Regions from separate parts of the Homo sapiens genome. Here region 2 is linked to region 1. The links are contacts of gene promoters, found by promoter capture Hi-C in blood cells and fetal thymus (Javierre and others, 2016). All regions are on one chromosome and are shown on one strand. Each heading gives the region's core, a stretch centred on a gene start or on the middle of the fragment in contact. The rest is flanking DNA. Distances are from core to core; before and after follow the strand shown.

Evidence for each region. Contacts are between HindIII fragments. The CHiCAGO score rates a contact against its expected background, and 5 or more counts as called.
Region 2: a fragment that was not itself captured here is called in contact with the fragment with the promoter of LINC01620 in region 1 in 7 of 17 cell types (megakaryocytes, erythroblasts, M0 macrophages and 4 more); the score reaches 13.1 in megakaryocytes.

The regions. Positions count from the first base shown.
Region 1 is chr20:44,463,473-44,468,229 of GRCh38, reverse strand. It overlaps LINC01620 (long intergenic non-protein coding RNA 1620), which reads left to right and starts at 2,886. Exons shown (of 3, transcript NR_132343.1): 1 at 2,886-3,065. It also overlaps the pseudogene RPL37AP1. The HindIII fragment of the contact is 2,937 bases long and covers 2,559-4,757 here.
Region 2 is chr20:44,615,181-44,619,937 of GRCh38, reverse strand. PKIG (cAMP-dependent protein kinase inhibitor gamma) reads right to left here. Exons shown (of 4, transcript NM_001281445.2): 4 at 901-1,653. The coding sequence ends at 1,574. ADA (adenosine deaminase) reads left to right here. Exons shown (of 12, transcript NM_000022.4): 12 at 91-416. The coding sequence ends at 104. Among named protein-coding and RNA genes, the nearest start is that of ADA, 34 kb to the left of the region's middle. RefSeq lists enhancers at 1,437-2,164, 4,059-4,188. The HindIII fragment of the contact is 3,680 bases long and covers 677-4,356 here.

The sequences.
Region 1 (4,757 bases), core at 1,637-4,136:
TACAGGCATGAGCCACCGCACCTGGCCAGTAGCCTGGTTTGGAACCCAGGCAGTCTGGCTTTCAGCTCTGCCCTCTCATCCACTGTAGCATATGTACCATACTGTTTTTTACTTGGTGTCTAGTGCCCCTGTTTGCAATAATAACTCCCCCTTATGGAGTGCCTGCTAATATGTGTGCCATTCTTTGACATTCACTACCCGAATCTCACATCAACCCTGGAAGGTGAAGGTACTTGTTAGTCTGCATTTGGTGGCTAGGAAAACTAGAACTCAGAGAGCTGAAAAACTTGCTCAAAGTAACAGAGTAAGTAAATGGCAGTAAGTGATGGAGGAGGAGTTTGAATTGGGGACGGGGAGGGTTCATACTCTGACCCTTGGGATTCTAAAGAACAAAGTGTCCTATACTCTTAAACAGATGCTCATCTGATGGGTCTGACCCAGTTTGAGGTCATGCGTTGCCCAACCAGTGGTCCGGAGCCTGGCTTGGCTTGAGAAGTGTCCAGACGCAGGCTGGGGGAAGTCAGAGGCTTCGCAAACACCAGACATGTTTGACCCCAATCAGAGGGTCGTGCAAAGCTTGTGACCCCGGGCCTGGGGTTCCCTAAGGAGCGAGAGACTCCTGTTTCTCCATGTGCCAGCCTTGTGCTCACAAGCTGCAGAATCAGGTCCTAGAACGAAGCTGGCCACCTCTCGGGACAGGGTAAAGAGATGCCCATGGGTTGGCTGTGCAGATTTCCCAGAAGTGGGAAGAACCTGGCTGTGTTTTTGTGGTCACACATTGATTTCCTAACCTGAGTCAGCATGGCTGCTTGGAGGTACAGTATGTCCTCTCTGTTCCCAGGGGCCCTGGATCCCAGCCTGGCTGAAGCATTTCCAAAACAGGGCCTGGAATAGTGAGGGAAACGGAAGGGGTGGAGATCCCAAATCCCCTCCGTCAGTACCAGCCACCCACCGTTGTATTAAAAACGCCCAGCATGGACTGAGTTCTTACCAGGTGCCAGGTCCCGTGCTAAGCATGTCATATGTATTCACTTAACTAACCTTACAGAGATGCAATGGAGTAGAGGCTCTTCCATTTAACAAAGGAGTAAACAGACTCAGAGAAGCCACATCACTTGTAAATGGTCCCACGGAGATGGAATTTGCAGGTCTGTGATTGTGGAATTCTGGAGTGTTAGCTCCGCAAATTCACTACTTCACTCAGCCCTCACCACAAACCCCCACCCAGTAAGGTGCTGCCACCCGCAGTAAGGATATGAAAAAACTGAGGCTGGGGGTGGTGGACATGACTTGTAAGATGTTTCTAGAAAGCTCTGCTGTGACAACCAGTAACTGTTTTTTAAAAGCCCAGTCCAACTCTCTGGGCTCGGACCTAGTTCGCGGTGACATGGCCAAACCTACCAAGAAAGTCGGGATCGTCGGTAAATACGGGACCCGCTATGGGGCCTCCCTCTGGAAAATGGTGAAGAAAGTTGAAATCAGCCAGCAGGCCAAGTACACTTGCTCTTTCTGTGGCAAAACCAAGATGAAGAGATGAGCTGCGGGGATCTGGCACTGTGGTTCCCGCGTGAAGACAGTGGCTGGCGGTGCCTGGACATACAATACCACCTCCGCTATCACGGTAAAGTCCGCCATCAGAAGCCTGAAGGAGTTGAAAGACCAGTAGACGCTCCTCTACTCTTTGAGACATCACTGGCCTGTAATAAATGGGTTAATTTACGTAACAACAACAACAACAAAAAAGAGCCCAGTCCAAACCCACAGCTGCTAAAATTTGGCCATGGCTACCCAAAACCCCCACATTTACTATTACCCCTATACCCACCACATTCTCCTAGGATGGGAAGAGGAAGCAAAGAGTTCTTTGGTGACCATCTCCCTGGAAGGGTGGAATGGGGTCATGGGGGCTCTTCCATGAGAGGGGCCACTATATGTAGAGAATAATGTGTGGCCATTATGAGGGGGCCCAGTGGTCTCATGTGGGCATGGACATCTAGAGGCTGAGAGAAACGGGCTGCCTGGCTGAACTGGTGAAGGAGCCAGTGTGGGCGTGCTAAGGTAAGCCACATTCCCAGGACTTTCGGAGTACAGGCTGCTGGCTGGAGTGTTTCCCATGGGCCAGTGTTGGCAGAGAGCACCTACAAGGGGTCCTCTTGGGTCCTGTCCCCTAGAGCCTCCTGGAGGGGCAGAGGTGTGGCAGCAGCAAGAAGCTTGAGTTGGATGTTGGGTTCCTAAGGGCTGACGAAGGACTTGCAAGGGACCCCTATGAGGAGAGATGCATCCCCCAAGGTTAAGAGTGAGAGGGCCCCTGTGACAGTGGCCATCTCCATGGAGCCCACGACAGAAAGGGGCAGCTTGAAGCCAGCCAGGATGGTGGCAGCTCAAGGGAGACCCTTCCTCTCCCCTTGCCATCTCCAACACCCCCCACTGTACCCCACGGGTGGGTGAGGGAAGGAGAGATAGAGAAGGAGTCACCCACACCACCTCCCTGAAGCAGGCCTGAGGGTGAGGGGAGAAGGTTTAAACCCAAATCAAATTGGGAATTTTGGTTAGAAGCTTGACTGGACATTCTCATTTCTAAATTGAGGTTGTGTTTGTGACCTAAAGTGACCATAGAATTGCCTGTTTCCTCAGAACAAGCAGAAGAATAATGGGGAGATTTCACCCAGTGGCAGGGAAAATGTTTCTCTACCAAATACATCTTAGAAAGGACACTGGGAGATACAAATTAAGGTATGCTTTGATTATGTCACAGGCTGGGTTTGTTCAACATGCTGGTCTCAGTGAGAAGGAGGATTCTCCAAAACAAGTCTAGGAAGTGAATGTTCCAGAATGTTCTAGAACTTGATTCATTAGGCAGGCAAGAAGTGTGCCTCTGGGAACCTCTTGAGCCCTTCATGGGCTAGCACACCAACACCATCCCCCCAGATGCTTCAGTTGTTGGCTTCGAATGGCTTACTATTTCCATTTCTACGGAGAACTGCCATCTCAGGAATCACCTCACCCTGGAGTTTATTCCCCTCACCCACAGGGTGGCTGGCAGCCAACAGCTGACTCGTACAGAGGTACACAAAGCCAGCCTTTTTGCTAGACTTTACCTGAGACCACATCTTTTCTTGTTTCCCTCCCTGTCTTGCTTCCCTTCATCCCTTACAGGTTCTTTCCTTTATAAATCACACAGTACCTAATCTTTGCTTCAGGCTCTGTGTCTGAGGAGCTGAAAATGATTTTGGGCATCAGGAGGTGCTTTTGTGACTGGGCTCTTTCACTAGTTCTGAGCTAGGTAATCCATTAGCGAAACTTCTAGATCCTAAATCAAACTACATAGATTCAAATCACAGCACCATTACTTCACTGCTGTGTGACCTTGGCCAATGACTAGTTACTACATCCCAGTTTTCTCATCTGTCATACAGAAGGCAAACACTGACCCACCTCACAGGGCTTTGCAAGGATTCAACATACAAAAGCACCTAGGATAGTGCCTGGCACAATCGATGGTGCCATTGTTATTCCTCCAGGCTAACAGCACTGACTAAGTGCAAAGGAAGTGGCTTTTTGCCATCTAGTTGAGGATGCTGTATCCTGGGGTAAGTGGCCAGATCATAGGATGGCTGTGGTTCAATTGTAATAAAATAATCACCCTTGGCCAGGCTGGTGGCTCACACCTGTAATCCAGCACTTTGGGAGGCCGAAGCAGGTGGATCACCTGACGTCAGGAGTTCGAGACCAGCCTGGCTAACATGGTGAAACCTTGTCTCCACTAAAAATACAAAAATTAGCCAGGCATGGTGGTGCGTGCCTGTAATCCCAGCTACTTGGGAGGCTGAGGCAGGAGAATCACTTGAACCTGGGAGGCGGAGGTTGCAGTGAGCTGAGATTGCAACACTGCACGAGACTCCATCTCAAAAACAACAACAACAACAAAAACCCACCGTTTATGGAACCCCTACTATGTCCCAGTCCCTGTTCTATGTGCTGCATATGTGCTTATGTGCTAGTTCACTCTGTCTTCACTACCTTTCAAAACTGATGTAATTATCTCCTTTCTTTTTTGAGATGGAGTCTCGCTCTGTTGCCAGGCTGGAGTACAGTGGCACGATCTTGACTCACTGCAACCTCCGCCTCCCGGGTTCATGTGATTCTCCTGCCTCAGCCTCCCGAGTAGCTGGGACTACAGGTGCACACCACCATGCCCAGCTAATTTTTGTACTTTCAGTAGAGATGGGGTTTCACCATGTTGGCCAGGATGGTCTCGATCTCTTGACCTCATGATCTGCCTGCCTCAGCCTCCTAAAGTGCTGGGATTACAGGCGTGAGCCACTGCACCCGGCCAATTATCTCCATTTTACACATGAAAACACTGAGGTCCAGACAGTCTAAGAAACCATCTATTAGATCCACAGGTTAAAAAAAATGAGTGCATCTAAAATGACTATAATTAAAAAGGCCAGACTGGGAAGTAGTTTGCAGTTTCTTAAAAAGTTAAACACACACTTATGTGACCAGCAATTGTATTCCTGCATAATGAAAGCGTTTGTCCTCTCAAAGACATGAACATGAGTGTTCATAGCAGTTTTATTTGTAATAGGCAAAAACTGGGGGAAACAATGACATGCCCAGGGGCATGGGTGAAGAAACTATGGCTTCTGTATCTTTCTTTGTTGTTTGTTTGAGACAAAGTGGAGTGCAGTGGTGCGATCACGGCTCACTGCAGCTCGACCTTAGGGCTCAAGCGATTCTCCCACCTCAACCTC
Region 2 (4,757 bases), core at 1,267-3,766, 150 kb before region 1:
TCCTTTCTGGTTCTGGTGTTCTATGATTTTTACAACATCCTGGGTACTACAAGTTGCCTGATCTTTTTGCTTCTCTGAACCAACGAGCAGGGCAGAACCTCTGAAGACGCCACTCCTCCAAGCCTTCACCCTGTGGAGTCACCCCAACTCTGTGGGGCTGAGCAACATTTTTACATTTATTCCTTCCAAGAAGACCATGATCTCAATAGTCAGTTACTGATGCTCCTGAACCCTATGTGTCCATTTCTGCACACACGTATACCTCGGCATGGCCGCGTCACTTCTCTGATTATGTGCCCTGGCCAGGGACCAGCGCCCTTGCACATGGGCATGGTTGAATCTGAAACCCTCCTTCTGTGGCAACTTGTACTGAAAATCTGGTGCTCAATAAAGAAGCCCATGGCTGGTGGCATGCAGCAGGTGGCATGTAATTTGGTGGTCTTGGGCGGGCCGATGTGGGCAGGATGAGCATGGAGGGAGCTGGGTCAGCCTGCTCAGCAGCAGGGCCTGAGCCTAAGGGTGGCTGTGAATGCCAGGCCAGAGATCCCAATGCTGTGGGCCAAGAGGGGTCCAGAGGCTGTCCTCCTTCCAGAAGAAATAAGGCTTCTCTGGTTGTTGCTCAAACATTCCCTGAACTCTCAGCCCCTCCTAACTCTAGGTTTTAAGGAGTAAAGCTTCCTTTTGGGTTCCTGAAGCTGGCAGTTGGGGTGAGAGCAGATGAGATGGAAGAGGGCTCATCAGACACTGGCCTTGGAGGGTGCTGGCCTCTGCAGAACGCCAGCATCTTCTCAGAATCGTATGTTCTAGAAGCCTGGGGCAAGTCCGGCTAATTGTGGACTTGGGGAAAATAAGGCCCAACCCCTGTTTTTGCAAGGTTAAGGAGAAATAATCTTAAACCAGTCACACAAATCATCGGCATTTATTTCCTGGGTCCTAGGTGTCACTTATCCTGGTGGACAGGGCAGAGGTGGTCAGATCGTTTTGAGCCAAAATCCCTTCCCTAAAAATGGATCTGTGGAGCTCCATGAGGGAACCTCAGAGATGCACAATGACAGTTTAGCTAAAATGGCTTAAAAAATGTGAATTGATTGTCAGCTCTCTCCATATCTGCTGAAAAAAGGTTTAAAATTTTTAAAAAGTTTAAAAGTGTTTTCTAAAAAAGGGACAAGCAGGTCTGGACCCAGAAGATTGGGCTGGAGAGGAGGTGTTGGTGTTGGGACAGGGTCCCTGCCCGGGCCGCTCGCGAGAGGAGCGTTCCTGTGTGGGCTGCTCACTGTAGGGCAGGCCCCGCCCAAGTCCCGGCGCCAGCTCAATAAATAACATCTTGTGGTTACAGTGTCTTGAAAGTGTACCTGGGCACGGTGCGAAGGTGGTGGGAATGTGAAGCCTGTGGGTGTGGGCAGAGGGCTTTCCCGGAGTGGAGGCCACAGAGGCCTCTGGGGAGCCTTCTCAGTCTGGCCTGGTTTATCTGGGACATGGAGCTCAGAGAAGAGGCTGCTGGGCCAGTGCCAGGGTTCCCCCTCTGGGAGGGGACAGAAGGTCTCTCGTCCAGCCTTCTTGGACAAGGTCAGATTCAAGACGAGGTGGTCCCATCGCTGCTCTGGGGCTGGTTGCCAGCTTCCTTGTCTGGGGCGCTTCCCTCCACCTGTCCTTCTGGAGAGGAGAGAAAGAGGTTTTTCTTGGGCACATATACACAAAGTAATGCACAGAAGGAGGTGTGAAAGGGCCCAGCCAAACTGATAGCAGTGGATATGCCCTGGGGAGCAAGACGAGCTGGAGCTGGACTGAGGTGGTGGTGGCCTATGGACTTTAGCCTGGTCTGTAACATCTTTTTACATGGAAATACACATAGTGTTTGTTAGTATAATTAAGAGTCAATTAAGGGCCATTATGGATGGGTGCTTAAAGCATCAAGTGAAGGGCTCTTGAAGGTTGCTTTGTTTGTGCAGGTTCCCCAGAGGGAGAGGCCAGATGTTAAGTCCCCAGTGTGTCACAGGTGCTCAGCAAATGGCAGCTGTTCTGTTTGTTTGTTTTTTTTTTAATTTTTGTATTTTTAGTAGAGACGGGGTTTCACCATGTTGGCCAGACTGGTCTCAAACTCCTGACCTCAGGTGATCTGCCTGCCTCAGCCTCCCAAAGTGCTGGGATTATAGGTGTGAGCCACCGTGCCCGGCCAATGTTCTTCTAAGAGAGTAAAGAGCACTGAACCAGGCCAGCTCAGGGAGCGCCAGGGTGTGGCCTGCATCAGAGTCTGTGGGGGCCAACCGTGCATCATGGGGTGTGTGTTGTACCTCCTTCTCAAATCCATCCTGTCAGACATCTTGGTGGGGTGAGGGGCAGCAGCAGGCTCACAGAGATGGAGCACCTCACTGAGGGGAGTCAGGATACAAGCCAAGTCTCCTCACTTTCAGCTTCCCTTGAGCCCCCCTGTGCAAGGTGGGACAGGCAGCTCCTGCCACCCACTGGACCAGCAGTGCAGGTTGAGGGGAGTGCCAAACTCACACCCAGGCCCCAGTCTCCATGCTTTCCTCCTCAGGCTGCATGATAAACAGGTGTCTTTTCATAAGGTGCACCACGTGGGGCCTGGCATGTGGGCAGAGCTCAATAGGTGGTACATTCTTAAACCCCAGTGACACTGTGCAATGTTACTAGGTGCCCTACAAGCTCACTGAGGGCCTGAGTTCAAATCCAGCCCAACCAGACCACACCTTTTTATCCTTCAGGCTAAGCCCTTCACAGAACCAGGAGAATCACCACCCTATAGCAAGCTCCAGGGTCTGCAGATGGATGGGCACTTTCTCGTGCAATGCACACAGTAACATGGAGGTGTAACTAGGGTCATGATATGCATGAGAAAACCGAGGCCCAGCGAGGTGAGCTGATTTGCCTGGATCAAGGGTGGAGAGCCCTGCCTGCCACCAAGGCTAGTACCCCTTCTACCAAATTTAACCTCCTCCAATAAGCAGCATTCCTGAAGGTTTATAGAGGCCTGACATCAGCACTGCCTCACTGTGCCCCTGCGGCAAGCTAGGAAGTGGGTGGTAGCTCGGGACCCTATTCCGAGCCCGCTGCCTGGAAAGCCTGCTTTTATTCCCAGCGGGGTGGCGCCTGGAACTCTGTACTCCCCCTGCCTTGGGGAGTCGCTGGAGTGGGCGTGGCCCGCAGCCCCGCCTGTGAAACGGAACTGCTCCCTGCGGGCTTCCTGGAAGGCTCCTTGGCCAGTCACTCTTGCCTGGACGCCACCGTGAGTGTTTCCTTTCCTTCAGTGAGCACTGTTCTTTCCTCAGGCCCCCTTTTTAAATGTCAGTCACCCTGGCAGGTGAATGTCATGTAGCCAGAGGACCCATACTTTAGGGAATCTGAGTCAGGGAAAACAGGTGTTAGGAGAGCCTGGGCACATGGGCCAGCAGCTACAACTGCTGAGGGAGAGAGAGACAGAACAGAGCTCACCAGAGCTGAGGGTGAGGACACAGAAGCCTTGAGAGAGAGCCCAGGGCAGCGTGCCCAGTGTGGCAGCTGGACATGCTGGTCATTCAGTCGGTCAATGAACAGCCATTGACTCGGTACCTCCATCATGTGCCAAACACCACCAGGCACCGAGGGCACAAGACACAGAGCCTGTGCTGGAGAAGCTCAGTCTAGAGCAGGGCCATTATGCTCAGTGGGCTCATGGAGGCAGCAGGGAGAAGAGGTGCCTCCCCGGTCTGGGAGGGGTACTGCGGTCAGGGAAGGCTTCTCAGCTGAGCAGATGCCTGGGTCTCTAAGAATGAAGAGAACCCAGCCAGGCAAGGGGAGGGAGGGGAGAAGCAAACAGAGGTGCAGCGTGTGAAGGCCCACAGGGGCTTCTGAGCGATCAAAGTACTTGACTATGGCTGGCGAGAGGATGAGAGTTGATGCTGGAGAGGCGAGCAGGGTGAGCCTGTGGAGGTTCTGCCTGGGCCACGTGACAGAGGAGAATGAATAGATTATGGGACAGGGAAGGCTTTTGGGGTGGGGTTCCGTCGACAGGGTGCTGGGGGCTCTCTCTCAAGCCGGCCAGATTCTATGTTAACTCCCTGGGTGGCCCAGAGCAAGTCCTCCAACTTCTCTGGGCCTCAGTTTGTCCATCTGTAACATGAGAGGGCTGGGTCCAAGCCCCGGCAAAGTCTTCTCTGTTCTGTACTTTTGATTCACTTCTGGCCAGTGAGGGGCAAGAAGACTAGGGCTACCCAGGGAGGGGCAGGGCTGTGGCCCTCCGGACAGCCCACGGGGAGACAGTTGCAGCCTGATGGCTGTGCTGTGAGAAGCACACACGGCCTCTGTGGCGCTGTGAGAGCAGGAGGGAAAGGCCTCAGCCGTGCAGGGGTCAGGGAAGCTTCCCAAGGAAATTCCCAGGCTGACTGTGGACTTGAGCCAAGGGGTTCTCTGGGGGAATGGAGGGGGTGGGGGTGTTCCAGCCAGGACTTGGGTGGGTGGATGCTGTTTCCTTTTGTCATTCGGTCTGTGGTTACCAAGCACCTGCTGTGTGCCAAACAGAATGCAAGGCCTCTGCCCTCCCGGCGCTCACATTTAGACCCCTGAGACCTTGTCAGAGAGTGATGAGGGTCATGTGATTGGGGAAGGCTGATCTAGCACTCAGAGAAGGCCCCTTGGAGAGGCTTGACTGAGAAACAGACCAAAGGTAGATGTAGCTGGAGGGTGTCAGGGAGAGGAGTGGCACCGGGTGAGACTTGGGCAGGGCCCGGCCTACAGCAGGACTGCCCCAGGGCAATGTGACA